Regions from separate parts of the Homo sapiens genome. Here region 2 is linked to region 1. The links are contacts of gene promoters, found by promoter capture Hi-C in blood cells and fetal thymus (Javierre and others, 2016). All regions are on one chromosome and are shown on one strand. The core of a region is centred on a gene start or on the middle of the fragment in contact, and the rest is flanking DNA. Distances in the headings are between cores, read along the strand shown. Region 1 holds the start of AGPAT3 (1-acylglycerol-3-phosphate O-acyltransferase 3). Region 2 overlaps AGPAT3 (1-acylglycerol-3-phosphate O-acyltransferase 3).

The links. The method cuts DNA at HindIII sites, captures the fragments that hold promoters and counts their contacts. A CHiCAGO score of 5 or more calls a contact.
Region 2: a fragment that was not itself captured here is called in contact with the fragment with the promoter of AGPAT3 in region 1 in 1 of 17 cell types (erythroblasts); the score reaches 5.1 in erythroblasts.

The regions. Positions count from the first base shown.
Region 1 is chr21:43,863,758-43,866,609 of GRCh38, reverse strand. It overlaps AGPAT3 (1-acylglycerol-3-phosphate O-acyltransferase 3), which reads right to left and starts at 1,387. Exons shown (of 10, transcript NM_020132.5): 1 at 1,265-1,387. RefSeq lists silencers at 629-948, 1,069-1,418, 1,969-2,328. The HindIII fragment of the contact is 5,864 bases long and covers 386-2,852 here.
Region 2 is chr21:43,908,094-43,910,793 of GRCh38, reverse strand. All of the region lies in intron 2 of AGPAT3 (1-acylglycerol-3-phosphate O-acyltransferase 3), which reads right to left. Among named protein-coding and RNA genes, the nearest start is that of AGPAT3, 44 kb to the right of the region's middle. RefSeq lists an enhancer at 1,921-2,422. The HindIII fragment of the contact is 2,603 bases long and covers 7-2,609 here.

The DNA of each region.
Region 1 (2,852 bases), core at 138-2,637:
GGGGGAGGAGGATTGGTTGGAAAGAGGGAGGGGGGGCGGCAAAGAAGTGGCCAAATCAAGAGAGTGCTCAGCATCCTCGGGAGACCCCTCTGAAGCTTTCAAACTGAGAAGACGAAGTTCAGCAATTCCTAAGCGAGTCGAGTCGGAGCAGCCGCGCCTGCAATTTAAAAGCTGCAGGATCCTGGGTCCCTCTAGCAGCCTGGGCCCGCCGCCCGCCCCACCTCCCAGCCCCCAGCAGGCTCTCGGCGTTGGCTTTCATTTTTAATAAGAGCCGCATGCTCATCACCCTCTGTCTGGAGGCCAACAGCCCACATCTTTCTTCTACTAAGATCATGTTTCCCAGGAAAAAGAACCCAACTGCTCAAGTATTCTCCTAGACAAAGCTTTTAAAATTGTGCTTTTTTTTTTTTAAAGGTCTGGGAAGCCATTTATAAAAGCATTTTCCCCATGTCACTAAACTTCTCTCAAAGTTAAAAAAAAAAAAAAAAACACTGCACCATTTTTAACTGCCTTCAAATACTAATAACCCTCCTTTCCTAAGTACTTGGGACCAATGTTCCAAGGGTCCTGGGGTGGCCAGGAGTGGGTTTTCGCCCCCACGGCTCTTGCCCCCGGACTGACCCCATCCCCTGACCCGCCCGGTGCAAACGCGCCGCCGGTCTCCGGGCCGAACCCACAGCCAACCCCGGGCCCCGCAGCCCTCCCCGCGCGGAGCGGCAAAAGTGAAACTGCTCCCTTGGCCTGGGCGCGCGAGGAGGAGGCCCCTGGGGGGGGTCCCGGGTCCGCCGCGCCCCGAAACCAGGCGGCGGGCGCGTCCTGTCCACGGGGGAGCCGAGCGGGGCCCGGAGCAGAGTCCAGGACGGAGGGATGGGACGTCCCCGCGGGAACCCACTCGCCCTCCCTCGGCCCGGCCCGGGCCCCTCCCGGGCGCCCCGAACCCCCGGGCCTCCCCGCTGGGCCCAGCGCCACCGAGGCTGCTGCGGGAAGCGGCCGGGGCCTCGCGCTGGACCAGGCCGCCGGGGAGGCCGGGGTTGCGGGGGGCGCACAGGACCCGGGCCCAGACCTCCTCCCGGCCCCGCGCCTTCCCAGGCCCCGCGCCCCGCGGAGCGCGGCCGGCCCATTGCGGCGCGGGGCCCCGGGCGGCCCGAGGTCGGACGGCTGGGGCAGGGGCGACCTCCGGCGGCGGGAGGGCGACCTCGGGCGGCGGCGGGGCGTGGGGGAAGAGGGGGGCGGCCCGACCTCGGGTGGGGGCCTCGGTGCTCACCTGCAGCCGCCGCCACCTGCTCGTCGCGCGGGCGTCCCCGGCGTCGCCTCCGCGGCCCCGCTCTGGCCGCCGCGCTCCTCGGCCCTGGGCCCGGCCCGGCCCTGCGTCGGGGCCTCAGCGAGTGCGGCGCCCGCCGCCCCCGGCCCCCATCCCGCCGCCCTCCGCCCTCCGCCCTCGGCCGCGCCGCCGCCGCCACTTCCTGTGCGCGGCGATCCCACAGTTCCGCCGGCGCGCGCGGGGCGGCCGAGGGACACGCTGGGGGGACACGGGGGAAGGACGCGGGGGGGGACGCGGGGGGACGGCGCGGGGGGGGACGCGGAGGGGACACGGGGGCGACACGGCGGGACACGCGCGCGGAGAGAGGTGTGGGCCGAGGGCGCCGGCGGGGCCGGGCGCGGAGCCTGCGTGGGATCCGCTAACGGACGGGGCTGGGGCCCGGGCTGGGGGAGGGGGCGGGCCGGGACCGCGGGGGGCGCGGGGATCAGGGGGGTCGGGGCTGAACGGGGGGAGGCGGCGAAGGACCAGGCTGGGGTCCCGCGAGGGCTCCCCCGGACCGGGTCGGGGGCAGAGGGGGCCGGGGCGCGGGGTGGGGCCGGGAGGGGCCTCCGAGCTCTGCCTGGGCCCCGCCATCTCCCCTGCCGGGGTCTCCTGCGGGCGCCGGGGAAGTTTCGCGCGCGAGCTCCTGCCCTGGTCGGCCGGGGCTTAGGGTCGCCGTCAGGGGTCGCCGCGCGGCGGGCTCGGTGGGGACGGCCCTGCGCGCAGCGGCTCCGCGGAAGGATCGCGTTTCGGCCCACGTGCCGCGCCCTTGGACTTATTCATAGTTGGCACCCGGCTGGCAACACTGTATCGACACTTGACCGTGGCGGGGGTGGGGGTCGCCCCGGGGCTGCCCTGCGAACCCCCGCGGGCGCTGACGCCGTCCCCTCCAGACCGCGGAGCCCTCTCAGCCCCAGGACAGCGGCTGCCGTCCCCCCTCCCTTGCACCTGGCCAGCGGCCGATCCCAGAACCTGCGGAGGCCGCGCAGGTGCCGCTGTCAGGGCAGGGCCCGCTGCGGGCTCCGCCTCCTGCGCCCGGTACCTTGTGTGACCTGGCGCCTGCTCAGGTCCTCAGGCCCCGGCTGGACTTGCTGAGCTTGGGTGGGCTTCATTTGAAAACCATTTAAAATACCAAGTACTGGTACTGTCTACTGTGCCCCTTTTTTTCCTTTTTTTTTTTTTTATTTTTATTATTATTGAGACAGGGTCTTGCTCTGTCGCCCACCCTGGAGTGCAGTGGTACAATCATAGCTCGCTGAAGCCTTGAACTCCAGGGCTCAAGTGATCCTCCCACCTCAGCCTCCCAAGTAGCTGGGACCACAGGCACACACCACCATGTCTGGCTAATTTAAAAAAAATTTTTTTTGTAGAAATGGGGCCTCACGGTGTTGCCCAGGCTGATCTCGAACTCCTGAGCTCAAGTATTCTCCCACCTCCTCCTCTCAAAGTGCTGGGATTACAAGTATGAGCCCCCGCACCCAGCTTGCACCTCCCTTTAAGCCTCCTCAAATTATTTCAGAAAATACTTAGACTAAAATAAAATGAAAGTACC
Region 2 (2,700 bases), core at 59-2,558, 44 kb before region 1:
AAAGCTTCCCTTGCAGAATACCTGACTTCACGAGACACAGCTTGGCAGATCAAAGTCTGAGCCCTTTGCTCTCCCCTCATATACATCACACTTCAGAGCACAAAGATAATTCCTCCTCCCACACACAGCAAAGATGTAAGAACTGCAGTGACCGGAACACCCACCTCCTCCAGTCCCCCGTGGGCATACAGCACACTTGCTTCCAGAGGGAAGGCCGGCCCTCCTCGGCCCTCCGCTCCACCTTCACCTCACTGTATTAGGACTTCACCTAATTCACTTAATTCACCTAATTAGGACTAATTCACCTGTATTCACCTAATTCACTAATTCACCTAATTCACCTGTATTAGGACTTCACCTAATTCACTTCACTGTATTAGCACTTCACCTCCTCCTTCACCTCACTGTATTAGGACCCTAGACTGCTGCTGGCAATACGCGCGGCCACAGCCGCTGGGAGACACCTGTGGCTCCACTCCCCTCCTCCAGGGCATCTGTCACCAATCTCTGCAGACCAGCACCCTCTCACGGGCGCAGGACCAGCCTGGCACAAACCTTTGGCTGCCATCAGGGCTGAACACGCACTCCCCAGAAAGAGGCCAGGAGCACAGAGGGAGGCCGTCTCCATCCCTCTCTGTCCTCTGTGTTCCTGAGATAGGTGTGAGTCACACCCTGCAGGCTCCCCTTCCTTGAGAACTCACGAACAGGGGGATCCCAGCCACGGGTCACGCTGTGGGTTTTAACCCGGAAAGAACAAGACACCACACACCTGCCTCACTTCCCCAGGATGCGTCCTAGGTCTCCTAAACTCCCAGTCCAGGGTGTCCTGGGGCACCCTGGTGCAGACCTGGGGGCTTACTCCTCACCACCACCCTCTCCATGATGAGGCCTGGGCCCCCCTCCCCACCGGGCTAGCGTTCAGATAGACCCTGCAGGACGGTGTACTAATGCTCAGGGCGGGGGCCCAGTGCTCCCTCACAGCTTCCCCCTGCAGCAGAGAACAAAGTCCCACCCAGTGGCTTCTCGGAGATCCACAGCCGGCCTGCAGGCCTGGGAGCCAGGCTCTCCTGCAACGAGGGCAGAGCAAGGAGAGACGAGACCTGAGACAAATATGATGGAACAGCACCGTCGGGATACCTTTCATTATCCAGGAAAGACTCAAGAACACTTTAAAGTCCTCTTCAAATGTGTATGAAAAGGCCGGGTACAGTGGCTCATGCCTGGAATCCCAGCACTTTGGAAGGCCAAGACAGGTGGATCACGAGGTCAGGAGATCGAGACCATCCTGGCTAACACGGTGAAACCCCATCTCTACTAAAAATACAAAAAAATTAGCCGGGCATGGTGGCAGGCGCCTGTAGTCCCAGCTACTCGGGAGGCTGAGGCAGGAGAATGGCGTGAACCCGGGAGACGGAGCTTGCGGTGAGCCGAGATCACGCCACCACACTCCGGCCTGGGCGACAGAGTGAGACCCCGTCTCAAAAAAAAAAAAAAAAAAAAATGTGTATGAAAAATGAGTGGCCCACCGCCGGCCAGTCCACTGCCTGCCGTGAAGGGGCCATGGACCGAGGGGCCTGTAGCTTCCGAGGAAGCCACACCAAGTGATGTCAGAGGATCGGCCCAATGGGGCCCTTGGAGCACCCAGACCCGGGAGGAGCCTTTCTTGAAGTTGGAAGAGTGAAGTCCCTTATCAGACAATGTTTGTTGTACAAAGAAAAAAAATAGTAAGTAAAAATTAAAATCAACGAATGAAGTCCTATTCAGGTGAGGCCCGCCTGCTCTCAGGGTTTTTCCCAGTGGCCTCTCTCTCCAGGGCAGGGCTGGCTGTGACAGGGCACGTAAGGACCCAGGAGCAAAAGACGCAGGCCAACCTCGGAGCACAGCAGGGGCATCCGGGGACCGTGTGAGCTGAGCCTGAGCCTGTACCCTCATCCAAAAAATGCAAACAACAGGGTTCGCTCCACAGGGATGGAAGGAAATGAAATGACGAGGGACTTTTGCAGCCTGGAGCTGGCAGGCCACCACGCTGACGCAGCACGGGCTTTGATCCTCGCCCTCATCAGTGAGCATCCTCTGCAATTAGCCTTTTCTTAAAGAACCCAAAGGTTTTAGAAGCTGCTGGCATTTCACAGTCCCCTGAACCTGGACACAGCCCTGAACCCGGAGCTGGAGGCCATAGGTCCTTTCTCATCCTTCTAGTGCCGCACCCACGGCTCCACTCCCCCTACCCCATGCCCTCACCTTCTGTCTATGCAAGAGCTGGGCTCCTGTGCCCATTTCACAGACAGGTCACCAAGGCCCAGGAAAGCAAATGCCTTGTTATGAATCACGGAGCGAGTCATACACACCGGGTTCCACAAGTTCCCAGCCCATGTGCTCCCCCTGATCGGGACACCTCCTTTCTGATCGAGAAGGGCCGGGGCTCAACACACAGGTCAGGTTGGCAGGTGGCCATGTGTGAACTTGGCTGGTTCCGCTCACGACAGGCATTCCTTCCCCAGAGTCCTCAGGGCTGGGGAGTGACCAGCCCCAACAAAGCTGCCAGCTCTGGATATCACCAAATTCACCCCAAGCCCTGGTATTTTGTGCTTTAGGGCACAAGTGAAGCTTGCCAAGTGCCTCATACAAGCCTTGGAAATCTCACTCCAGCTTTGGAACACACACACGTTTTTCCCACATAATTTAGGCTCTGAAGCATTC